Regions from separate parts of the Homo sapiens genome. Here regions 1, 2, 3, 4, 6 and 7 are each linked to region 5. Evidence: promoter capture Hi-C in human tissues and cell types (Jung and others, 2019). All regions are on one chromosome and are shown on one strand. Each heading gives the region's core, a stretch centred on a gene start or on the middle of the fragment in contact. The rest is flanking DNA. Distances are from core to core; before and after follow the strand shown. Region 1 overlaps GRIA4 (glutamate ionotropic receptor AMPA type subunit 4). Region 2 overlaps GRIA4 (glutamate ionotropic receptor AMPA type subunit 4). Region 3 overlaps LOC105369468 (a long non-coding RNA gene). Region 4 overlaps LOC105369468 (a long non-coding RNA gene). Region 5 holds the start of GRIA4 (glutamate ionotropic receptor AMPA type subunit 4). Region 6 overlaps GRIA4 (glutamate ionotropic receptor AMPA type subunit 4). Region 7 overlaps GRIA4 (glutamate ionotropic receptor AMPA type subunit 4).

What was found. The method cuts DNA at HindIII sites, captures the fragments that hold promoters and counts their contacts. A contact is called where the count stands out against the background at its distance.
Region 1: a fragment that was not itself captured here is called in contact with the fragment with the promoter of GRIA4 in region 5 in 4 of the 25 tissues and cell types used here (dorsolateral prefrontal cortex, heart right ventricle, hippocampus and 1 more).
Region 2: a contact is called between a fragment that was not itself captured here and the fragment with the promoter of GRIA4 in region 5, in 3 of the 25 tissues and cell types used here (dorsolateral prefrontal cortex, heart right ventricle and mesendoderm cells).
Region 3: a fragment that was not itself captured here is called in contact with the fragment with the promoter of GRIA4 in region 5 in 4 of the 25 tissues and cell types used here (H1 embryonic stem cells, bladder, hippocampus and 1 more).
Region 4: a contact is called between a fragment that was not itself captured here and the fragment with the promoter of GRIA4 in region 5, in 4 of the 25 tissues and cell types used here (adrenal gland, hippocampus, liver and 1 more).
Region 6: a contact is called between a fragment that was not itself captured here and the fragment with the promoter of GRIA4 in region 5, in 3 of the 25 tissues and cell types used here (dorsolateral prefrontal cortex, hippocampus and lymphoblastoid cells).
Region 7: a fragment that was not itself captured here is called in contact with the fragment with the promoter of GRIA4 in region 5 in 5 of the 25 tissues and cell types used here (H1 embryonic stem cells, dorsolateral prefrontal cortex, hippocampus and 2 more).

What each region holds. Positions count from the first base shown.
Region 1 is chr11:105,783,435-105,787,218 of GRCh38, reverse strand. The region is part of intron 4 of GRIA4 (glutamate ionotropic receptor AMPA type subunit 4); the gene reads right to left. Among named protein-coding and RNA genes, the nearest start is that of GRIA4, 180 kb to the right of the region's middle. The HindIII fragment of the contact is 5,237 bases long and covers 1-3,784 here.
Region 2 is chr11:105,801,167-105,804,735 of GRCh38, reverse strand. The region is part of intron 4 of GRIA4 (glutamate ionotropic receptor AMPA type subunit 4); the gene reads right to left. Among named protein-coding and RNA genes, the nearest start is that of GRIA4, 190 kb to the right of the region's middle. The HindIII fragment of the contact is 4,289 bases long and covers 1-3,569 here.
Region 3 is chr11:105,432,747-105,436,193 of GRCh38, reverse strand. All of the region lies in intron 2 of LOC105369468 (a long non-coding RNA gene), which reads left to right. Among named protein-coding and RNA genes, the nearest start is that of GRIA4, 180 kb to the left of the region's middle. The HindIII fragment of the contact is 3,577 bases long and covers 1-3,447 here.
Region 4 is chr11:105,408,107-105,411,537 of GRCh38, reverse strand. The region is part of intron 2 of LOC105369468 (a long non-coding RNA gene); the gene reads left to right. Among named protein-coding and RNA genes, the nearest start is that of GRIA4, 200 kb to the left of the region's middle. The HindIII fragment of the contact is 8,590 bases long and covers 1-3,431 here.
Region 5 is chr11:105,608,753-105,612,224 of GRCh38, reverse strand. GRIA4 (glutamate ionotropic receptor AMPA type subunit 4) reads right to left here and starts at 2,152. Exons shown (of 17, transcript NM_000829.4): 1 at 1,797-2,152; 2 at 1,140-1,317. The coding sequence starts at 1,227. RefSeq lists a silencer at 976-1,176. The HindIII fragment of the contact is 8,669 bases long and covers 1-3,472 here.
Region 6 is chr11:105,864,023-105,867,568 of GRCh38, reverse strand. The region is part of intron 5 of GRIA4 (glutamate ionotropic receptor AMPA type subunit 4); the gene reads right to left. Among named protein-coding and RNA genes, the nearest start is that of MSANTD4, 160 kb to the left of the region's middle. The HindIII fragment of the contact is 6,672 bases long and covers 1-3,546 here.
Region 7 is chr11:105,819,502-105,822,932 of GRCh38, reverse strand. The region is part of intron 4 of GRIA4 (glutamate ionotropic receptor AMPA type subunit 4); the gene reads right to left. Among named protein-coding and RNA genes, the nearest start is that of MSANTD4, 200 kb to the left of the region's middle. The HindIII fragment of the contact is 4,619 bases long and covers 1-3,431 here.

The DNA.
Region 1 (3,784 bases), core at 546-3,045, 180 kb before region 5:
TATGAGTTTGTCATAGAGTTAAATGCCTTTAGACTTCTTTATACACAGAAAAATGAATTTGGAACACTTCTGAACTGGAACAGAGATCAGTGCTCAATTAGTTGTCTTTGGCTTGGCCTACCAGGTTATAGTCTCTCTGTTCCTTTCACCAGAATGGCAGGGATGGAAATCACCGTAAAGTTTAAAATGTACACTAAGAAAGAGTGCTTTTCAGCTCTTTCTGAGGAGAAGCTGGGAGAGTCAGAGAACAATGCCTGTCTCCATGGGGGTGAGTGTTGGCTCTGATAGCTTTCTGTTTACCTCCTCACTGAAGGAGATTTCTCTCTTTGCTTATGGGAGTCCAATTCTGTTTTCTGAAAGTCCAAGATGCATTATAATAGCATGTTTGCAGTCTAATTCACAGTATAATTGCTAGTGGTTCAATTAAAACCACTGTTTTGTAAATTAAAGATTCTAACGGAGCTTCTCCTGCAGAGTAATAGCAAAATCGCTTTTAAGCTTACCTTACAAAGAAGCAAAAAACCCAAAAAACAAAAATACCACACATACACGTTTAATAAAAAACCTTTCTGGGGGAAAGATTTTTCCCTCCACTGAATTAGAAGGGAAAGACTAGGTTATGTACTATGTAATATTTATCTTTTAATTCCCGGAACCTAGCATAGTACATAATATAACATCAACACATGAAAATTTTAGGTTAAATGAATAAATGATTATACTTCAGTCTTGGATACTGTTTAGTGTGTCATCTTTCAACTAAAGAACTCACACAAGGAGAAATTCAAGAATAAGAAAGCTAAATGTTCCACAAATCAATAGTACACTGAGATGTAAACATCTACATTGTTCAAATGATCCAGTTGAAATTTGTTGTAATAAACCTAAAAGAAACAATTTATTGCCGCACTTTCATTATGACTTGAGATAATCCTCTTGAATAGAAGATTCAACTCGGTAATGTGATCTTAAGAGTCATAATGTGGGCATAGATATTTTACAAAACATTGTCATAAATTGCTGGTCAATAGCAGATACTTCCTTTTTCTTTCCTTTTTTTTTTTTTTTTTTTTTGAGAAAGGGTCTCACTGTGTCGCCCAGGCTGGAATGTAGTGGCTCGATCTCGGCTCACTGCCACCTCCACCTCCCGGGGTCAAGCGATTCCCCTGCCTCAGCTTCCCAAGTAGCTGGGACTACAGGTGTGGCCACCATGCCCAGCTAATTTTTGTATTTTTTGGTAGAGACGGGGTTTCACTGTGTTGTCCAGGCTGGTCTTGAACTCCTGGCCTCAGTGATCCACCCTCCTTGACCTCCCAAAGTTCTGGGATTACAGGTGTGAGTCACCACCCCCAGCCTAATAGCAGATATTTCATTCTAGGCATGAATACTTTTTTCTTAGTCAATTGATATTATCGACAATTTATACAGATTAAACCAAGAGTTTGCCACCATTTCCTTTTGTTTTAGTTACCTGATTTTAGTACCAGAGTAAAAAGCAGATAATATCAGTTTAGAAATGTCGTCTATCCAATATCAAATATAATACAAGTAACTTTTAATGTTCATATAACCTTAAAGATATAAACATCACTTGATTTATAATGTCAGTTCCCATGGGAAGGACCATGGTTTGGAAAACACTAAAAGTTTAAGGTACATCAACATCTGCCTGGTTCATGCTTCAGAAATGTTTGATCGTGATGATTTTCCAAGAAACAATTGATGCCCATTGGTACTTTATAGCAATCATCTAAATAAATCTTAACTGGTGTTCTATTTATTTACCATTTTTCATTCTGTTCTTTTTTGTAATGCCTTGCTTATTCCTCATTTAATAGAAATAAAATATATTGTCTCTCAGATTGATCTAATTGATCAATCTAATAGCAATTATCAATATATGCATATTTATATATACGTGCAAAACACTTTCAATATGGTATTGATGGATTGTACCTCATTTATTTTTCACCCTAAATAAATAAATTTTGAATTTGCAAATGAAGAAATTGAAGTTCAGAGAGACTAGTTTATGTCTCTGATTATCTGAGCCCCAATAACGTATAGTATGCACCAGCAAGAACCTAGGTTGTGGAGGCAGACTGCCTGGGTTTGAAATCCGGCACAAGTGTGTTTTGGAGGATTAAATTAGTTAATTTATATATAGCATATAAACAGTAGCTGGAACGCTGCATGGGCTTAATACATGGTAGATTTTATTATTGCTACCTCAGTGTTTCCCAAACCCTGGTATTTGGAATCACGTAGGATGCCTAAGACTGCAGATTCCTGGGCCTTATCCTATATCCACTGAATCAGAATCTCTAATTTACAAATCATGGCTGTACTCTTTCCAATAAGTGATGTTGACCTTTTTAAAAAATATTTTTTTCTTTGCAAAAGGGTTATGTTTTGCTTTAACAGGTCCCTTTCTTACAACACATCTTATTTATGCCCACAAAATGCTTAATTAAGGAGGATAGTAGGTTTAGAACTTTGAATGCAAAAAAGACTTGTAAAATTTTAAATTTGCATACTTGTGCAAAATTGATAGTTTATTAGGGTAAAGTAGAAAAGATGGCTTGTACAAAAGAGCCCAAGCCCATTCATTATTTACTGAAAATCTGCTATTTGCTAAATACCTCTCATTCACGCAGCACATACTGGCTGAGTGGCCCACAGGGACCCAGCACTCTGCTGTCTACCAGGGTTTCAAAGATGAGAAAGGCCAGACTCCTGCACTCACGGCAGTTATAATAATGAAATGCTCCTTTCAAGGATGAATATTGAATTAAATATTTTATTAACAAAAGTGAATTGTGAATATTCACTATTGATCAAATCTGTATGTAAATTACAGAAATGATGAGGGATTTACAGAAACTGCTTTTGAAAGTCTCCCAAATTGATTCTGGTTATAAGGCCACTAAATTGTATTGCAATTAATTTGCAAAAACAATATAGGAATACATATTTCTGCACATTTCTAGGATAAAGTCAATAATACTTATTAGTCTTAAGACAACTATAACCTTCACAGTGTTGGTAGTGACCCAGGTACTGTTCTAAGCATTTTTCACAGGTGGGTTTTATTAATCTTCCAAAAACAACCATGTCAGGAAAGTACTATTATTGTCTCCATTTACTTGTGAGGCTAAGCTACAAGGAGATTCAGCAATCCAAGGCCAGCTACATATGTAGAGGAAGCAAAGTCAGGATATAAATCCAAATAGGCTTACAAACAAGTCTATTCTGGTCTAATAATTCGGTTACATTTAAATCTATACTCAAGTGATTCATCTGTTTCAATGCAGCTTTACATCACTGGGTATTGTGAAGCTAGGTGCTGGTGCATTTTCTTAAAATAATTCTGTCTCTTGAACTTTCAGCCTCAATTATGACAAACTGATAAGATTTTTACTCATACACATACACACACACACACACACACACACACACACACACACACACACAAATAACATCCAGAATCTGTTTTATCTCTTTTTATTTCAAGGTCTGTCATTTTTTGAAAAGTGTAGTTCATAAAATGTTTTAATACTGTCTGTGAGTGAAAAATATCCAATGTATTTTGAAATGTCAACTATGTTAGGAAGAAACCTATGGACGATAAAGGAAGCTTTGCAGTGTTTCTGATGAGCAGCTGTTCTGGTTGGTTGAATCCTTCCTTAGGATGACCGTTATTGAGTCTTTATACTTCTGCACTGGCATTATGCTTCCTCTGAAAGGAATTCAGAATTATCCAAATGAATGGAAAGAGATCTAT
Region 2 (3,569 bases), core at 694-3,193, 190 kb before region 5:
AATGAAGGCATTAGTTTACCAACAGCTACCACCATGCTCTCAGAATTTTAAAATTGTGCAATCATCCATATAAAATAAATTTATTTTTATAATAATTTTTCCCTTCATTCCAACCAACTATTGTTAGCTGTGACTTATTTACCTTCTTGAAACTTTAACAGTCTTTATCAAGGCTGCCTTATGTCTACTGTCATTTTTCTGTGCAGGAGTATACAACTTAACTAGAATTCATTTTATCTCTTTTTCAATACAATGCATAGTTTTATAAACTTGTTAAGTGGGGGATTCTGCTTTTTTCCTTTAACATGGAGATGTGTCATATGTGTCATTTCCTGAGGATGGTCCAGTGGTCTAGTGCGTGTGTGTGTGTGTGTGTGTGTGCATGTGTGTTTGTGTGTTTTAATAAATTGGAAGCAAGAACATTTGATGTTCATGAAGTTACACTTATTTATTACGGAAAACAAAAAGACAGCTTTACATCATAACATGTCTTTAATAATCAGGTTTATATGCCTCAAAGGCTAAGAAAAACTATGATGAAATGTCATATCATGTAAATCTATCAATTAGGATGTTAACATTTTCTGTTTGTAATATAAATGAGAGCCACTAGATTACCAATCTGCATGTTAAATAAATGCAGCATCAAGCATAAGTAGGTAATAATGCATCCTACAATAAAATTCCAATCATATATAGCAAATGAACAGGTCTGTTAATTTTCTATGCCCAAATTCCTCATTCTTCTCCTCTTCAAATTTACCTTTTGTTTTTTTTCAAATCTAAGAAAGGTCAAATGTAAAAGTGAGAGCTAGTCTCAACTGTAACCTCCAAGATACTAGTAATCATGGCTCTTCTCTCTCTCTCTCTCTCTTTTTTTTTTTTTTTTTTGGTATAGCACCAATCAGAATCACCTATCTATTCAATTTACCAACTATATCAGAAGCTTACTTTGAGAACTCGGCCACCTTTCCTACATTTTTGAGGTTCTAAGCAAGGATCATTAGGAGCTCATGAAGTGTTCTTTATCTGGAAGATATACAATGTGTGTTGCTTAACTAATTAAAAATGGAATTATGATAGAAATAGCACATCAATTTATTGATCTGTTCATGAACATTGATCTAAAATATTTCTCAGAAGAGCCTATTGATTTAATTACTTCAGTTATGCCTTAATACAGTTAAAAGAGTTAACTTTTTAGTGTAATGTAATTTTCACATTAATATGTATAATTAATAACTTTTGTTCCACCTTATGAAGCACATTAATGTAACCTGTGAGACTCTCATCTATATAAAATTTTATATGTATATATGCACATTGAAGATATATTTATTTATACAGGTGAACATCAATATATCATTAGCCAAGAGAATATCTAAATTTCATAGTGGCAAATAACCTAAATTCTCAGAGCTGCAGTCTTCTTCTCTCTAACATGGAACTAATATCTCCCTTGCCTCCTGCAAGAATTTGGTAACTATTAACAGAGATACTATATATAAGAACAGTCTAAGAAATGGTAAATGAAAAGGTCCCATTAAACAGTCCCATTAGATGTATAAAAATAAGTGATTTTTATACAAGCAGTGTGCTTGGCTCAATACACATTTTAACACGGAGATATTAATGTAATAAAAGACAAGTAGACATATCTATATTTCCTGTGACCTGGTAGATCACATTTCTTTTGAGTTGAAAGGTCTTGCCTAAAAATTTCAAATGTTAGTTACTGTGATTTAAGTCAAAGATAAATTTAAGATATACCTAATTAAATTCTATATTGAATAGCACTATTGTAAGATTTTAGTATATATGTGTGCATATGTGTATAAAATATTACATAATATCTATAATATTTATATTCTTAATGTAAGTGAAATAAACCTAATGTAAATTTTAAAAGTATAACAATATGTTTTGAAATAAACAAATAAAAAATAAATGTTGTTTTTTTCAATGACATAATCTTTGTAATTAACTACCTTGTAGGATATAGCCTAGGAAGAGATGTATTCTATATTCCTGTAAAAAAATCTTGCCAAACATTAAAGAAATACTCAATATTTTTATTTGTAAAAATTTTGAACTGAATAGTAAGCAATATCCAGAAAACTTTTCAATAGATTCACTAAATTGCTGAGTAAGTGAGAAAATAGACTGAGAAGTTTAATAGTTATAAATTACTTTTTTGATATTAAGCTTGGTTGCATTTCAAAATCTTTTCTTCATTTTGTGCCCAAAGTTCAATTAACTAATACTTTCTACATCTTGACAGCTAGGTCATTGAAGAGGTTAATCAAGTGTTTGGATTTTATTTGTTATCAAGGTATAACTACTCATCTTCATATTGTGAGTACTTAGTTATTTCTGATGGTTTTAAATCTGAGAGGTTGATTCAGTTCTTAAATAGGAATGCATAGAGGAAGCTCTGTTTCAACATCTCCTGGTCCAGCACTGTCAGGCGGGCTCTGCTTTTGGTGTTCTACCAGCAGATGAAATCTTGTTCTTGAATTCCAGCCTCTTTTGGGCTAATTTCTGTTCTTCTGCTCTCTTCTCTCACCACCAGCCTCTAGAACTCAGATGCCCTGGGCTTATAAGTTTGCTTTGGGTCACTGACTAAACTGATGAGTCTCTTTGATGTGGCCGCATCTGCCCATCTGGACCCAGTCAGGCTGCCTGCCAATTTAGCCCTTTGTTAACTCATCCCCTTACTTGGATCTCCAGTAATTACTGCCATGTCCTGCTCAAATTGGCATCCCAGATGCTGGCCTTTTCTTCAACCTTGCTTTGTGATACTGCTATCCTTCATGTCTTTTCCTTTGTGACTCATCTCTAGGTGTCATACTCTTCTTGGTATTACAAAGTATTTTAGTTAGATATCATGAAATCTTTGCTTGAATACCTTCAGTGATCAGAAGCACAATATCTACCAAGGAACTCAATTCCATTTTCATTATAACACTTATTGTTAGAAAATCCTGTCTTATTTTTAGTCAAATTCAGCTTCTCTACAGTTTTTTTCCCTAGTTTGACCTCACCAACAATGAGCATAGTACTTGTACATTGTAGACAGTAAATGGTAGTAAATGGTAGTGGCTATTATTTTTAACTCAAAGTTTTCAATTGGAAGATTTTTCTCATTAAAAATAACATAGTTGAAATAAAAAATTATGTCTCTAACTTTAATGGAACTCACTTATGCTCTGAAGTTAGAGATATTTCTGAATTTCTTCAAAGTTTATTTGGCACTTTTTTATTCAGAAAGTAATTATTTCAGATAAACATATTACTTTCTATTTTTTCTGTTAAAATGTTCATTTTTCTCTCTACTTCTAATCTTTATTAAAATAAAACCTACATTCTTATAATCCTAATTTCCTGCATGTTTTTCAATATTTGTTGTCCTGAAGTTTATTGAGGCTTAACATTCAATATCACAATCTAATTTTTCTGTATTTTTCACACATACTTAAATTGATTCATCATTTTAAATATTAAATATTTAAATATTTCAACAGGTAGATACATTTAAATACAGTTTCTTCCTTTTTTCTCTCTGAGTT
Region 3 (3,447 bases), core at 419-2,918, 180 kb after region 5:
CATAAAAAAAATTTGAAAAAAAATTTTTTAAGTTGACCTAACTCAGCATATTCTGTCACCATAATGGAATGAAATGAGAATAGCATAAAGACAAATGAAAATCTCAACACATATAGAAATTAAACAATACACGTCCAAATAATTCACATATCAAATAATTTTTTAAAAAACATAGAACTAAATGAAATATATGACCACATATCAAAATATTTGGGCTCCAACTAAACAGTGTGAGAGGCATCTATTTATTGCTTACAAATTACTAGCTTACACTAGGAAAAAAAAAAAGACCTCAAATTAACAATGTATGTTCCTACTTCATAGAATAGTAAAGAAGATCAAAGTAAACCTGGAAAAATCACAAGGAAGGAAAAAATAAAGATAAAAACATAAGTCAATAAGATTGAAAACAGAAAAACCACCAATAAAATTCATAAAACTAAAGGCTGGTTATTTAAAAAATTCGATAAAATGGATAGACCTCTGGCAAGACTGCAAAAAATAAAGATAAATAACACAAATTATTATCCCTTCAATTACACAGGTTTATCACTATAAATTCCAGTGCAATTGAAAGAGGCTAATAAGGGAATACTATGAACGAATTGAAGCTTATAAATTCAACAACTTAGGATAAATGAACTGATTCCTTAAAATTACAAATGCCCAAAATTTGAACCAAGATAAAATAGATTATAGATATTCCTATAGACGTTAAATAAATTGAATGTATAGTCAGAAAACTTCGCTCACGTAAAAAGCAAAAACAAAAATAAAACAAACAACTAAAAATCTTTAGGCTCAGATTATTTCACTAAATATTTCTACCAATTTTTGAAGAATTTATGCTGTTATTACACAAACTCTTCCACAAAATAAAAGAAAGACAAAATATTGAGGCCAGTATAGTTTTCCCTAGGGGACTGGTTCTTGGACCCTGATAAAATTTGCAGATGTCCAAGACCTTTGTATAAAATGGTGTAGTATGTGCATATAATCTATGCACATCCTCTCACATACTGGGCTTTACATCATTTTTAGATTACTGAAATAGCTAATACAATGTACATGCTATGTAAATAGTTGTTATACTGTATTTTTAAGTTTGTCTTATGTTTTACTGTTGTACTGTTATTTTTTATTCTTTTTTGGACATTTTTGATCTGTGGTTGGTTGACTCCACAGATGTGAAACCTGCAGATATGGAATGCCCACTGTATAAAGATGTGCACTCAAAATTTCTTGTTAAGGTTATTCATAGACATTTTAATCTGTTTCCAATGTGAATCAGATCTTTTCTCATAATCCTCCAATTTATTACTGGTGTACAAGAAAGCTCTTGATGTGGGTTGTTCATTTTACATCTAGACCTTCTCCTTTCAATTATAACAAAATTTCGGTTATCTTTGTCTTTATAGGGAGAAATTTGTCTGCAAATAAGGATGATTTTGCCTCTGTCCATATTTTATTGTATTAGCAATAAAGTTTAGTATTTAAGGAACAGAATCTGTATCTACATTGATTTGCCATGTGTTTTTTTTTTAACTTTCTTGTTCTAATATTTTGTTTTGTTATTTTTTAACTTTTTATTTTGGAATAATTAGACTTGCAGAAAAATTGGAAATATTATACAGAGAATTCCCTTATGCCCTTCATCCAGCTTTCTCTAATTGTATGTAACATTGTATATAACCACAGTGCCAATATCAAAACCAGGAAATAAACAGTAATGCAATACTATTAACTAAAGACTCCAGTCAAATATTGCTAGCTAATGTGCTCAATTTTTAGTTTTCCGAGTTGGGGTGCTAATAGATGAACTTTGAGACTGAAGGAAATAACATACATAACAATTCAGATATATTGCCAAATTGCATCACCAAAAGCTTGAACCAATTTGAACCAACTCTGCAGGAAGATTCCCATCACAAAGAGTTCACAGAGTTCATGGTCATCTCTTATTTTATTGCTGTTTATTTGTAGTTTATTGGTTACTAATGAACACAAACCTTGCTTTATCCTCCAAAGTTGTTTATTGCCTAATCTTGTAAAGTATTTTTTCTGGTCAATTGTTCACAGTTGTTGTACATACACTATTGATATCTTTATGTGAACATGTAGTCACACATTTCTGTTGGAAATGTATTTTTAAGTCTATTGTCTGTATTTTCAATTTGTTAATTATAAACAATTTCAAAAGATATGTATTATGTTGATACGGTTAGCCTTTGTGTCCTCACCCAAATCTCATCTTGAATTGTAATCCCCATAATCCCCATAATCCCCACATGTCAAGGGAGAGACCAAGTAGAAGTAATTAAATCATAGGAGTGGTTTCCTCCATGCTGTTCTCTTGATAGTGAGTTCTCACGAGATCTGATGGTTTTATAAAGGGTTCCTCCCCCTTCACTCAGTGCTTCCTGCCACCTGTGAAGAAAGTGCCTTGCTTCCGCTTCACCTTCTGCCATGATTATAAGCTTCCTGAGGCCTCCTGAGCCTTGTTGAATTGTGTCAATTAAACATCTTTCCTTTATAAATTACCCAGTCTCAGGCTGTTCTTTATAGCAGCATGAAGACAGACTAATATGTATATAAATATAATTTTTGAGCTAGAGTATTTAAAAAAAAAGATGTCTTCAACCAAGAGAGTTTATTCCCTATCAGTAACTCTATTTCTAGTTTTATATAAAGATTTACGACCTCTGCTGACATGTCTTTTGTACTTTATGCCAAAAGAATATGTCCTTTTTTAATCCTATATTTTCTTAGGTGAGGCTTGGGAGACATAAGCTAGTCTATTTCTCATTTCCAGTAGATAAATTTTTTCCAGGGGTTGATCTAAAGTGGGGAAGATTCGGATTCACCACATTCAGATTCTTTAGTTTGCATAATTTCTTGGAAACCACAAATCTTTAATTGCATTGCCATCTCTCAAAGTTTCTAATACGTACACATCATAACAGTTTTTTTCTTCTTCTTTGATATATTATGGAGTAATAGTTTTCTAGTATGTAAGGGGAATTTTCCCTTTGGAGAGATGAAACATTTTTGCAAGACATGCCAAGTGGTTTAAGATGTCCTTCTGTTAGGAAAATAAAAGGCAAGGCTGAATAAGTGGGGAAAAAGTGGAGGTCCTCTGTCACATCTGTCTATAGTGTGTCTATGTACAAGCTTGGTCTGATTTAAGCCTCCTCTGTATGGTAGATTCTTCTTGGTCATTAGGTTGATTGCTTCCTATCTATGGACTTGAAAACATGAATTTTGGCTGATACTCAACCAGCACTCCCTAGTACAGTCATACAGATATAGCCTGTCTAGCTCCTGACGGTCATGATTTTGAATTATCAGAACCTAAAATACATTTGTTATTAAAAGTTTTCTGAGGAATGCTTCCTGAAACCATCTCTAATTTTTACTCTTCACATTCAGTATTATTTGTACAGGTTT
Region 4 (3,431 bases), core at 900-3,399, 200 kb after region 5:
AAGTAAGGTTTATAATTGGATGAGATACTCATGCCTTTCATTGTAGAGTAGAACTGATTTCATTACTCCATTCACTAGTAGTTATTATTTTTCTGCTGAGGATACTGTAATCTCTGCAGTATACTGTAAACTGTAAGGTTGATGGATTGCAAGACCAAAATGGATAATGTGTATCACAAGATCTCCAGTCTGTGCAGCAACATGGTGTTTGCTGAACACTCCTCACCACCTCGGTGACCGGCAAGCTACTTCAATCCTTTGCTCTGAAATTGTTTTTAGTATAGCCCCTCCTTCTCTCCTTGTGATAAGAATAATAGGCATTTGGACTGTGGATTTAATATATGCCAAGCATTATGTGAGGTGATTTCCATACATTTTTCTCAATCCTCACAACATTGTAAGGTAGGTATTATTATTAAGGAAGTGAAGCTCAGAGATGTTAAGACATAAACCCAAATAGTTAACGTAAAGAAACAGATTTTGAAAAAAAAATATTCTGCAGTCTACAGTCTGAACCATAGACTTTGTTACACATCGGTCTTGCAGATGTGTTGTTGATAAGGAAAGTTTAGGTCTATACACCGGCATAAACCATTGATTCTATCATTCATTTGCTCATGCATAGAGATCCTATAGAAAATCTAGTCCAAATTCTGACACACTAAGCTGGACTAAAATTTGATCACATTTTCCATCATGTTTACTACCCAATTCAAGGTCTCTTGACATCTGTAATTCTCCTTAACTTTCTCTCTCCAGTCCCATTTAGGATATATTGAATAAAAAGTGGGCATTATTCCCCTTGGGGTTAGTCACCAACTTATTTTTGAAGAGGTTAATTTCACATTTAGTCTGCCTTACTGACTTCCCAATTTAGTCCCAATTTTGAAATGGGTATACAATTTATTCCCTAGCCTTTGAAGCTAATGTATAAAGGGAATTATTAAAATTTGAGTACAAGAACAAGTGCATCATAGATTGAAATTTGCTCCTCACCTACATCTCTGGGCTCTAGGTATATTTTAATTTTATTGAACATTTGTTTGACCATGGGTTTGATTTCAATAAAAGGCTGATTTATAATATTCCTGTTTTTTAATCTTTTCATTTCATTTAAAGGACTTGGTCAAGCATAAAATATCTAGAAGTCAGGCATCTCTCTACTTCAATGGTAAAGCAATATCCTTTGTAAGAAGAAAATATTTTCTTCAACTTCAATTTTTTGTTCCTTGAAAAAATTAAGATCATACAATATCAATTTGTTCTATGAAAATTGAGAGAAAACAATTGCATAGATATGTTCAACTTCAGAAAAACAATTATTTGGAAAAATTTATCTAATAATTGGTATTAGTAACCCCCCATCACTAAGCCTACACACGTTTTATATTTTACTTTTTCATTTTTATTTATTTCATATAGTCACATATTTCATAAACTTGCATGGGTCAGATCAACTGACTCACTTTTTCCTATTGCCCTGTACATTTTCTTGTGAAAGCCTCTGACTGTGATACTGTTTATTTAATAAATTGAAATCCAATATTAGCAAAGCCAATGATTTATCTTTGTTAATCAGTCTCTCTGAAGGGCATGAAGGGGGGCTCTTGCCCTCTGTTTCTGGAAGGAAACATTTAAATACTTACAGTAGTTATTTTTACCTCATCTTGGTGTTATAGGGGCTTGATTCTAACCTTGCTTTAAACGGATACAAGTTTTTAGAGAATTAAGCCTAAGCATTCAAAGGGAAAGTATGACTGTCTCAACATTGATCCATTCTCATTCAGATGACTTATAGGAGAACGCTAAAGAGAAGCCATTTACCTAATGCTAAATAACGAGTTAATGGCTGCAGCACACCAACATGGCACATGTATACATATGTAACAAACCTGCACATTGTGCACATGTACCCTAGAACTTAAAGTATAATAATAATAATAATAATAAAAATAAAGAGAAGCCATTTAGTCTCATTATGGTACTTCAAGGATGCAACAGTCCATAGTACTTGGCAAAAAAACCTTAAATATCAAGAGAGATAAAATGTTGACTTGTGAAAAGCTGAGCAGTGTATATACTAAAACCAAATTTTATATTCTGTATCTAGAAAAAAAGTTGACAAATCCTGTAATACATGGCCTGACAGATGTTGAATATTTAGATGTTGCATTTTATAAAATAGATTATATAAATAAATTATATGAAATAACCATATGTTGACAACAACAACAACAACAATTTGCTTTAAGCACATCCTGGTAATAGTTTATAATGACTGAATTAATAAAAATCCAACTAACTCATTCTTTCAGCCTTCAAAATCTTTGCTTGCTGATAGCTGATTGAAGTGCTACATCATTCATCCAACTAAGTGATTATAATTATCAAATTAATTGTTTCTAAACTATCAAGGTCTAGTTATTTAGATCACTTTACCACTATAATTTCCAGAGTCATTTCTGATTAATAACCACATATAGCTGCTTAGTTTTTAATATCTGGTAAACATTTGCATATTTGGGAGTAAAGATAACAAATTACACCTTAACTATGAATTTGTACTTCAATGCATAGATTTTGTAATTGTTTCTGAATGACAGACGGTTAAGAAACAATTATCTTGACAATGGTGCTTATTTCATATGTGCAGAAAAAAAGTTTTTTTTCAGATTATGCAACGAGTACTTTTTCTCATTGTTACTATTATTATTAGTTACTTAGGATTGGTTCTCCTTACCCATTTAGAAAAATTAAAAGACAAAACAAAACAAAACATGACAACAAAAATGAGAGAAGCTTCCTGATAATTAAATGATGACCAATAATCTCTTAAGTACTTAAATATTTAGTAATTGCACAAAATATATCTAAGTCCTGATGGCACAAAACCTGACTCCCTGCTGTGAGATGTGAGCTTGTCCAGTTGTGAAGAAAGACCATAATACAGTCATAGATTCTCTAAAGAGAAAAATATAGGCAAGAAGTATACAAAGCATTTGGAAGATGAATTGATTTAATTTGTTCATTTGGTTAGCATTATAGGTGAAAATTGTACCTTAACCATCTGATATTAGGTGTATCACAATGGCCAAGGCAGTCAATACCTCAATCTCCTTGTAGTTTAATGTCCATCTACAGTAAAAAAAACAATGACAACACACATCATTTTAGAAGAAAAAATGAAGTATCATAGAAGTCTCAGAGGAAAAGGCAGACAGTTTTTCAGGAAGGTAAAGGAATGAATTATTCTAAGACTATCTGGTGTCAATATGAATGAATTGAAATTTACAGATAGATAACATTCTTCATTTTTAAAGAAAAGTATTATTTCCCAAGTATTATTCTAGTTGTTTCCACTGTCTTCCAAGAATTTACAGTATGAATGGCTGCTGTTTTTTCTTTGAGAGCTGTCCTTTTCTTAAGAACCA
Region 5 (3,472 bases), core at 903-3,402:
ATACCCACCCCAAGCACAGTCAAATCTACTGCCATTCACAAGCACATACAATTAAAGAGCTATACCTGCCACATCTAGGGAGACTGCCCTTTGTCCCTAAGGTGCATGCTTAGTATTTAGTCTTTAGAGCAGCTCAGCTTTTTCTTGTCCTAATGTGTCTTGCTCACAATGACCTCTGAGACCATTTAGTGAATGTTCCTTTCTCTCCCTTGCCCTCCCCCTGATTCCCAGCACACTGCTACATCAGCCACCTCAGGGCAGCTCTCTCTAAGATGCATGCAGATGAGCGGAAAAGAGATTTACATTAAAATACGGAAATGAAGGGATATAGTGCCACACAGGGAAGAGGGAAATCAGAAAGAAGAAATGAACTTTATTTTCCTCCAGCTCGTGGACTCAGCCTAATTAACTCCGTTTTATGCACAGTCCACGAGAAATGATGCAGTGTTGAGGCTGGGCTTAGCTGGAAGAAATTCAATAGCTGCGTCCCATTAAAAGACAGTAGAGGAGAATAGCAAGAAAAGCCAAGGATGGAGGGTGTCCCTGGAAACAGAGTCGAGGTAGAGAAATAAGGGCAAAAGCTTCAAGAAGAAAACAAAATAAAAGGGGAGAAGCTTCCAGGAAAGGGATCTAACTTTGGAATCTGCTAACTGGTAGCAAGAAACGGCAGGGCGTGCGGGTGGAAATGTCTTTTTCCTCAAACAGTGTCTTTCTGTAATAGCAAGAAAGCTGCGGCGTCCAGAATGGGAAGAAGTGGATTTTTTTTTTCTTTTTTAAACAAACTCGACATCACTTTATGCTTTAGAGAAAGGGATGGAAATAAATATCATATAAAATACAACCAAATTCCCCGAAGACTTTCCCCCAACTTATTTCAATCCTACTTAAGCGACTATAGGTAAAGGTGGAAATAGGGCTATGGGCTGAGAACGCATGGGTGGGCTGCCCTGGGTGTATTCCAACGGAACCTGCACTAAAGAGGAAGTCTTTTTGCAAAGGAGAGAAAGGAAGAGGAGGGAAACAGAGGGGAAGGGAACTGCTGAAGGTTTCCCTGAATTGCTTATCAGCAACTCATTTAACTCACTTTCGGATATCTGCTACAACCAGCCACATGCACACCCCATCGGAGCACACCTTACCTATTTGCACGCTGCTCGGAAAGGCTCCCATGGCGAGTCCCCAAAATCCAGAAAATAACAAGACAATCTGTCTGGAAATAATCCTCATCTTCTTTTCTCCTCTCCCTGGCGCGCGCTCTCTCTCTTTCTCTCGCACTCTTCCTAAAGGCTGTTCAGAGAAGCATTGAAGACGATGGCGCTAAAATTAAAATCAACCAAAAAAAAAAAAAAAAAAAGAAAAGAAAGAAAAGAAAGAAAAAAAAGGAAAGAGGTTTCGGTGGTTTAAGATTATGACTAGTTCTCCTTAGCAATCCATCGCGAGCCGCCAGATTTTTCCCGCAGTCTCCATAGCCCTGGGAGAGGTTTTCTGTCCGGCTGCAAATGTTGCACATGCAAAAGATGGTGGTGGAGCGTCTAGTGGCTGCTCGCAGGGATGAGACATGCGCTCTATCTTTGCCTCACTCGCACTCGCGCTCGCCCCTTGCTTTCTCACATACACACAAACACTGGCGCCGCGGCCGCCACACGCGCTCTCCAGCTCGCATCAGCCGACATCCCCCAGCAAGCCTGCACCAGCCCGGAGCATCGCTGCCCTCCTGGCGTCCCCTCCTCGAGCGCGCACTCCCTCCGCACGCCCCTCGCCCACCGCTCGGCTGGCTTCACCCCCTGGGTGCTCACCGGAGCGCCCCAGTCTCCCGGACGCTCCGGAGCCAGTCTGGTGTCAGGTTTTCCCTTCTGACCACTCGCTGACTCCCTCCTCTTTTCTTCCTCGGTTCGCAGAGGGACCGACTCTGGGGATGGGCACCCCCAGCGCCCCTCTCTTGGTTTTCCTGGCACCTCTGCTTCTCGGCTGCGCTAGGCAGAAAATCCGCCCACGGGCCAGGTCTGCAAGCCCCAATCGGGGGCTCCGGGGGGTTAGTACCTCCCCATGCCCCCAGGCCCCTGCCGCATCCTTGCAGGTTCGTGAGGAGGACGGGCTGCCTCCCTCTCCTACAGTCCTGGCTTCCCTCTCAGCCTAGCCCTCTTCTGCCACTGGGCTGCGCGCGGGGGACTCCGGTCCTCGCTGCAGCAAAGATTTCTCACCAGCAAACAGCCCGGGAATCTGGAGAGCCTGACAAGGGAATGGATGAGGTGAAAGGGTTCAGAGAGGGATGGGAGGAGAAAAGACAGGCAAAGGGCAGCCCCTGGCGGGTTTAAGAGGCCAGGACCAGGATGAAAGAATTGGAGGAGGTAAGGATGGGGAAGAGAGCCAGAGAAGTTGAAACATCCTGGGAAGGGGAGGAGGGGGTAAAAGGTTATTTTAAATAACTGACGAAGTTTAGGGTACTGAACGGGATGGGGAAAAGACTGAGAAATGAAAATTGAAAGAGGCCTCTAACATTCTCTTGGAAAGGCATGAAGCAGGGATAGGAATAAGAACTGCGTGAAGTGTAAAGTAGGAAAAGTGATTAAAGATTCGATTGCTTTCTATACAGTCACCCATTCCGGAGGACTCTTTCCTTCTGTGCTGTGGCCCATTGCAGGAGCAGGAGGGACACAGCGCAAAGGCTGATGAAGGACCAGAGGGGCAGTGCTTGGGGCAGTGGGCACAGGTGTCTGACAGGAAGATAGTGTTTCGTGCACATCTCCTCTTGTCTGGGACTCTGGAATGCTCACTCTGCTCCACGCCACCTCCAGGTAGACTTAAGCACTTCAGTGATGATGTCAATAGTTGTTTTGACTGGGTAGAAGTGAAAATGAATTATCCTAGAAAGTTTTGGGGTTACAGTCTCACTTGCTCTCCAGAGTCACCTTTAAGATTGTCCTTTCATCTGCCTGTCCTGGACTGAGCTTGAACCACACTCAGAAGCAGTCACTGTGGTAGCCGTGAGTGACCGGTTTCTGATTTCCTCTGTATGGTTTGAGATTTCCTGATCTAGTTAGTAAATACAATCTCCTGTTCCAATAAGCTGTGTGAGAGAATCATTAGAAGGAGAGGTTCTCCTTAAACGTTAGGGAACCTAGGGTGATGTCTGCCATTAAATTTTTAAAAAGAATATAGCAAATGCCTAGGTTTGCCTGATATAATATTTGAGACTACAATGCTTAAAGTGGAATTCTTGCAAGGGACTTACAGAAAGCCTGGTAACGGCTTTTTGAAATATACATTACCTTAACTCTTTCAAAATACTTTATTTGGTGTCACTGATTACCTGTATTTGTAGTTTGTAGATGACATTTTAAAATCCCTGCTAAAACTTGAGTGCTTTTCTATTTCCTAAGTTTTGAATTTTATTTTTAAAATTGCATCTTTAAAATAAGTGTCTGCTTTCCCGTTACATTTCACCACAGATTGTTATGAAAAAAAAAACCTA
Region 6 (3,546 bases), core at 865-3,364, 260 kb before region 5:
TTCAGCTCCTTTTAATGCTTTATTCAATATAGAGACTTTTTGGGAGTCCGGGGGAACTGACAGAGTTCTAGATTTGTACGATACCTGATGTTTGAGAGTTGTGAAAATTTGTAAATGAAAACTCTAGATAAATAGGCTTTTACTAAGTATTGCCATGCATTTGACCATTTGCCAAAAATTCTGAGTCCTAACATCTCACTTAGATGGTACTAGACATGGTAGGCAGCCTTGGGTTTAGAATAAGTTAACTGGGATCATGTCCACATTTCATCTCTTATGTGCAAATGGCCTCATTTAGGTTTGAGAAATTTTCCTCTCTTTCTCATTGATCTTGCCCTGAGGTAGGATTATTGGCTTCTTTTGGTCACAGTAAGCCTCTGAGAGGTCAGCCGTGGCTTTTAGGCTTTTTTGATTGATTTGCAAACAGTGTGGGAAGGTCACTGGTTTTGTCAGTAATCCGAGATTCACACTGTGTCTGATGGGACACTAAATTCCCTTTCATATAATGAAAGTGGCAATACTGCTGAAAGGGGTTCCAATTAAATCTGGGGTACATGATAAAGAAGCAGTTTAAGATACCTGTGAGTCAACTGTAGAGACATTTTTCTCCATTCTTTTGTTAAATACCTACTTCATACTCTAAGGTCAGTCCTTACTATCTTTTCCTGATAAATACTTGGTTAGATTCCTTAAATACATCCATGATGTGTACTAGGATCAATATTGTTCTAGTTTTCTATCAAATGCCTTTGATATCTCATCTATTTAATAATAACTGGCATCCATAGCAAAACCCCCAAGGCAGTGTAAGATCCTTTATCACTTTCTACATAATGTATTTCTAAAAGAAATCATATATTTTAGTAGGATTTTAGGAAATACTTTTGGTTTAAACCTTAGTTAACCAGACAGGAGTTACTAACCATAGCAGAAAATGTATCGGTTTTGCTTAGCACTGTATCTTCAGCAGAGCATAGTACCTGAATATATATATATATATATATATATATATATATACACACACACACACACATATGCGTATATATGTATGTGTGTATATATATGTATGTGTATTATATATGTATACACACACTGCATATGCAGTGTCACACACACACACACACAAACACACACACACAACACAGTGGGGACTTAACAAATGTTTGTAGAATGAATAAATATCCAGAAAAGGTCACCTGACTGAAGTTTTACTATTAATACACGCTTCTTTTCAAGGTATATCCCATGCATACAATTATACATTGCTTTAGGATAAAACAAATCATCAAAAAGACTTCACTGCAAACAGCATTATTGACTTTTAGAGACAGCAAGGATTTTCAAGATCATCTCAGCTCAACTGTCCTTATTTAAAGTGAGAACGAGAAGAATCATAGGTGGTTAGTGATTCCATTTACGTTTTAAAAATAAACAACTAAAGATTTCTTATCCATCTCTCAGAGAATGAAAACACTCATTTTCATTTTGTTGGAACCATCATAATTTGGGAGATATAATGTAACTGACCAAAGAAAGAGGTAGATGAGTGCAGACCATCCAACTACCCATTGGGATAATTCTGTTCCAGAGGATCAGAGTTGGGAGTTCATGGGAATAGGGTTTCACTAACAGGAACACACAAATCTAGCTGCTGGACCCTTGGGTTTTTATCACAGTGGAGTAAAATGTGTGAGCAACCACTAGCCTTAAGTGCCATTTTGCTCAATTACTTTGGCTACCAGAAAAAGAGTTAAGATAAGATTTGTTGTTGCTTTTTTGCTACTAGGTTAAACATGTGAACCAAAGTCTGACACTTCAATGTTCAATTGATAACGTTATTAGGTAGAATCCATAGGGACTCTTTGCAAGTAATAGAGTTCAGAATTTAAAATTAATAGATACATGTAAAAATCATAAATAAAAGACTCCCACTATAAATCTCTTATTTTGATATGAAACGGTTCTTTTGATTCCAGCTACATGAAGCTATTGCAAGCTGTTCTACAAAATAATTGATATTTTTGTTATAGGAAGAAAATTAGGTGAAAGGAATAAAGCTAGGGTCCACAATGATATTTATAATATCTTTCAAACTCATAGCAATTTAAGTAAAAATATTCTATAAAAAATTCATCACAAATTCAGCAAACACTTAAAAATACTTCTCATTTTAGATTTCTTTTCAAGGCTTGTTTCTGCAAATGAGTGGACCAAATTGCTCATTGGATTTAGAGAGCCAAAATTCCAATTTGTTTGATTGGTGTTGATATGAACAAAATAAATCTAACTTTGTGGTTTCAATATGTTTCTACTCTCTTAAATGACTCAGTGGGTGATATTTACATACATTCTTCCATTTTTTCTTATGGTGTACATTAAACCATATTTTCAAATACTTGATCTTAAACTCATATTTTGAAATGCTTGAATGAGTATATGTCTAGCTACTATATTAAATAGCAATACATTTATAAGAACGAATTAGTTCATGTCATAAAATAATTTGGAAAACATGTATAGAAGATGAAATGCTTCTATAACCACAGTTTTCCATTAACATATTTTGAGAGAATATTGTCTGAACTATTTCTATTATGTTTTTGCAAATTGATACAAATTAAGATGTCAATGAAGTAATTATTGATGGCATGCTACCATAATATGAAATGTGCCCATCCTTCTAGAAATTTTTTTTTTTGAGATGGAGTTTCACTGTTGTTGCCCAGGCTGGAGTGTAATGGCACGATCTCGGCTCACCACAACCTCCACCTCCTGGGTTTAAGTGATTCTCCTGCCTCAGCCTCCCGAGTAGCTGGGATTACAGGCATGTGCCACCACACCCGGCTAATTTTTTATTTTTAGTAGAGACAGGGATTCTCCATGTTTGTCAGGCTGGTCTCGAACTCCCGACCTCAGGTGATCCACCTGCCTCGGCCTCCCAAAGTGCTGGGATTACAGGCGTGAGCCACCATGCCCGGCCATAGAAATTTACTAATATGAAGTGTGTCCATCCTTCTAGAACTTTATCATCATTGTATTAATTTCACCATCTTCTGAGAAAAGTCCACCTTTTCAAAGGCATTTTTCTAATCAAGATTATTTAGCATTTAACTTTTTACCTTTTAAAAATGCTTTGGTTGGTTTTTTGAAATTGTTTTCTTTTGCTATCTTAATTTATGAAAAAGGATGTTGAAACACAGGGGTCTTAAGATACACGTACAAACCCCTGACAAAGTATGGATTAGCTCTTGTGGAAGAGCCAAGAGTAAAACCAAGAAAACATTGAAAGTTGTTTCATTTAGAGCTACAAGGAATTAAAATACAGATAGTAAACAACAACAACAGCATGTTCAGAATAAAAACACAGCTTTTCTTGGAGGAAAATTTTATAGGACAATTAAGAGTACATTATTTTCTCACAATGCAGTAGACTTTATTGCAATTTATGAGATTTATACCTGAGAGGCATTTTAAATGGACAAAGTTCTCTTACTATTATTATTATTATTACCATGCAACCATGATAGAAAAGAAACCTTTTAGAAT
Region 7 (3,431 bases), core at 28-2,527, 210 kb before region 5:
ATTGTATTAAAGACAGCAGAAAGAGTAATAACCAAAAATACATTTACTCAACATTTACACTCTACTCAGTCCTTGCAAATAATTGCCTTGCAAATATTATACACTCCCATAAGAAAATCAATTTTTATTATATACTTTTGTGACATATTAACCCCATCTTCTTTTTCCAGATGGTTTCACTTTCTTAACTGGCATTATACTATTATTATGTTAAGAAGATATTAAAACATACCACAAGGATAATTAAACTCCAATTCACCATACTTTGTTTTAATTACTCAATTACCAAAGCAAAACAAAATTTAAGTAAAATTACATGAACATATAATTGAAGAAGCACATGAACAAATATGGTAAAAGGAAAATTTGGGTTGAAAAATCATTGCATTCCCTGAGCACCCTACCATTGCTCAGACATTATGCCAGACATTATGCTAAGTGTTACAGACATGTAAAGGTAATGAGAACAAATTTCCCTCCTAAGACTTTGCAACCTACTTGGTGACACTGACCTGCATAAGTATAAACATTTATAGTGTGTGTCTGACTTCCTCTCATTTTTCCCCCCTCATAATTCTGTTAAATCAAACTGAAAGAAAACAGAAAGGTCTTGAGTAAAAGAAACTTCACATTCTTTTACTCAAAGAGCCACTCTGATTTCCTCTGGGGTAGGCATTGGGCAGCACTCCTAGCTATATGTCTTTTGCCTGGCATTTAAACTTTATCTTGATTATTATTGCATGCCAGTCATGAAATTATATTTATATTATTTGTCAAGTTCCTCATTACTCTGAAGAAAGATGCTACAGGAGTTTAAATAACCCTACGTCTACAAAGGCACAGCCTGGCTTAAAGCTAAGCATTTCAGTTACACTTATGCTTTAGGTATTAGCATCTCTTTGTAACGCAAATTGTTCTACAGCAAAAGGATTTTCCCGGTTCTGGGAACCTGCGTGGCGAGCGCAGCAGAGTCTAGCTCACCTGCAATGTGCAGTAGTTCTGCTGCATTTTATGGGTACCTCGAAGCAGCAGTGAGATCAGCCTGACTCGGCTTAATATGATAAGTCATGGTTTGTGCCAGTTACTGGCATAATGTGTTAAGTGTGTGTGGGTATTAAGAATTTTTTTAGCATAAATTTTATGGGAAAATTATGAACAAGAAATGAAATTTACAGAATTCAAATTATGAAGAGTCTCTGATATACTTTGGATATTTATCCCTGCCCAAATCTCACGTTGAATTGTAATCCTTACTATTGGAGGTGGGGTCTGGTGGGAGGTGTTTGAGTCATGGGGGTGGATCCCTCATGGCTGGGTGCTGTCTTTGAAATAAGTGAGTTCTCACATGATCTGGTGGTTGTAAAATGTGGCATTTCCTCCCCCGCCCTCTCTCTCTTGCTCCTGCTTCTGCCATGTGAGACACCGGCTCTCCCTTTGCCTTCCACCGTGATTATAAGCTTCCTTAAGCCTCATCAGAAGCCAAGCAGATGCCAGGACTATGCTTCCTGTACAGCCTGTAGAACCATGAGCCAATTAAACATCTTTTCTTTATAAATCACCCAGTTTCAGTTATTTCTTTATAGCAATGCAAGAACGACCTAATACCCCCTCCTACAATTTCTTCAGAGGGAACAATATTGCCAAAATCAAATTGCTTCAATACAATTTTAACTAAATCATTCAGATTTTGATTTTCCTTTGTTTTCCTATATTGTTGTTATTATTTTCTGAAACCATGTTCTAAAGTACAAATTTTGACTTTTACTTTATGAAAATTTAAGCTTTTATCTCACCTTTTTATTGAGTGTTGAAACTGAGTGAGCTCTCAGTTTTGGATGTCTAAACATTCAGTGAAATTTCAAATTGAACAGAAGGTATGAGAGTGAGGAAGAGAGGTCAATGGTACAGTAAATAGAGAACCAATTTAAACACAAAAACAATAACAAAAACTAATAAACGTTCAGGCCTCATATACCATCAGGGAAGTTTTCGCTCTTCTGTTCTTAACAGCCTGCTGACCAATTTTTGGTTTGGAAAATAAGACAAAGATTGCATATGGCATATGTAAATCAGGAAAAGCTACATTTCAGATTGTGGAGTCTAAGTAAAAATTTTAGTGACTTTGTCTGTTGTTCCTTAAAGGGCTATTACATTTCTGACCCTGTCTCTAAAGATCTTAAAATTCAGTGAAATTGACAGAATGCTATAGACTATGAATCACCTACAAACAAAAATTAGAGATAAATGGAATAATAAATAATTAGAGATCAATGGAAATAAACAGAAAAAAAATAATTCTGACAACATAGATGGAAAGCTTGATGGATTTGGAGAATTTCACTTGGCAGTTGAAGAATGAGGATTTTCATGTAGGAAAAATGGCAGAAAATTCATTTCATATGCAAGACTGAGAGAACATTGCATATGAAAACTGCCCAGTGAGATGCCTGGCATGGGGGAGCCGACAAATAAATATATATTTTTTCCCTATGACCAAAGATAAAGAGGGTCCATGACTGGCATGTTTGAGGAAGGGTTATGAAGAGCACGGCTGGAGTGAACAGTGTGCAAAGGAATGATGGAAAGAGACAAGATGTCTCAATAGAAAAAGTTGTGCTTTGAATGCAAAAATGGTTTCCTTTACCTACTAGTTGTGTGATCTTACTCTCTAGGCCTGAGTTTCCTTATCTGTGAAAAGAGGATTATTTCAGTTTCCTAGGGATGTGGAAACAAAGTGCCACAGATTGGGTAGTTTAAAACAACATAAATTTATTGTATCACAATTGTAGGGGCTAGAAGTCTGAAGTCTGCTCCCTCTGAAGGGCCATGCTCCCTCTGAAGCTTGGAGGGTACTCTTGCCCTGCCTCTTCCTAGTTTCTGGTGGTTTTCCCGCAATCTTTGTCATTTTTTGGCTTGGAGTAGTATAACTTCAACCTCTGCCTTTGTGGTGACATGGTGTTCTTCCTGTGTATCTCCATCTTCACATAACCATCTTCTTATAAGGATACTAGTCACACTGGGTTAGAGGCCCACCCTGCTCCAGGATGGCTTCATCTTAACTAATTACATCTTCAATGACTCTACATCCAAATAAGTTCATGTTCTGAGGTAATGAGGGTGAGAATTTCAACATATCATTTTTTAGATGAACACAGTTCAATGCATATCAGAGATAATAGTAATACCTATTTATTTCATTGTGTTGCTGAGAGATTTAAATATAATAATGTGTGATAATGTATACATGTTATAAAGTAAGACTTTTCATGCAATTTTATCTACCCTTACCCCCTACCCAGGAGCGTTTCATGTGCCTATCACCCCTCAGAGAGTAGAGAAACTCCCACAAATGTTATATTTGAACTATGGATATGAAATATAAGTATTCTTTAACTGAATTTTTGGTACACTGTCAACGATACCTAAGATTG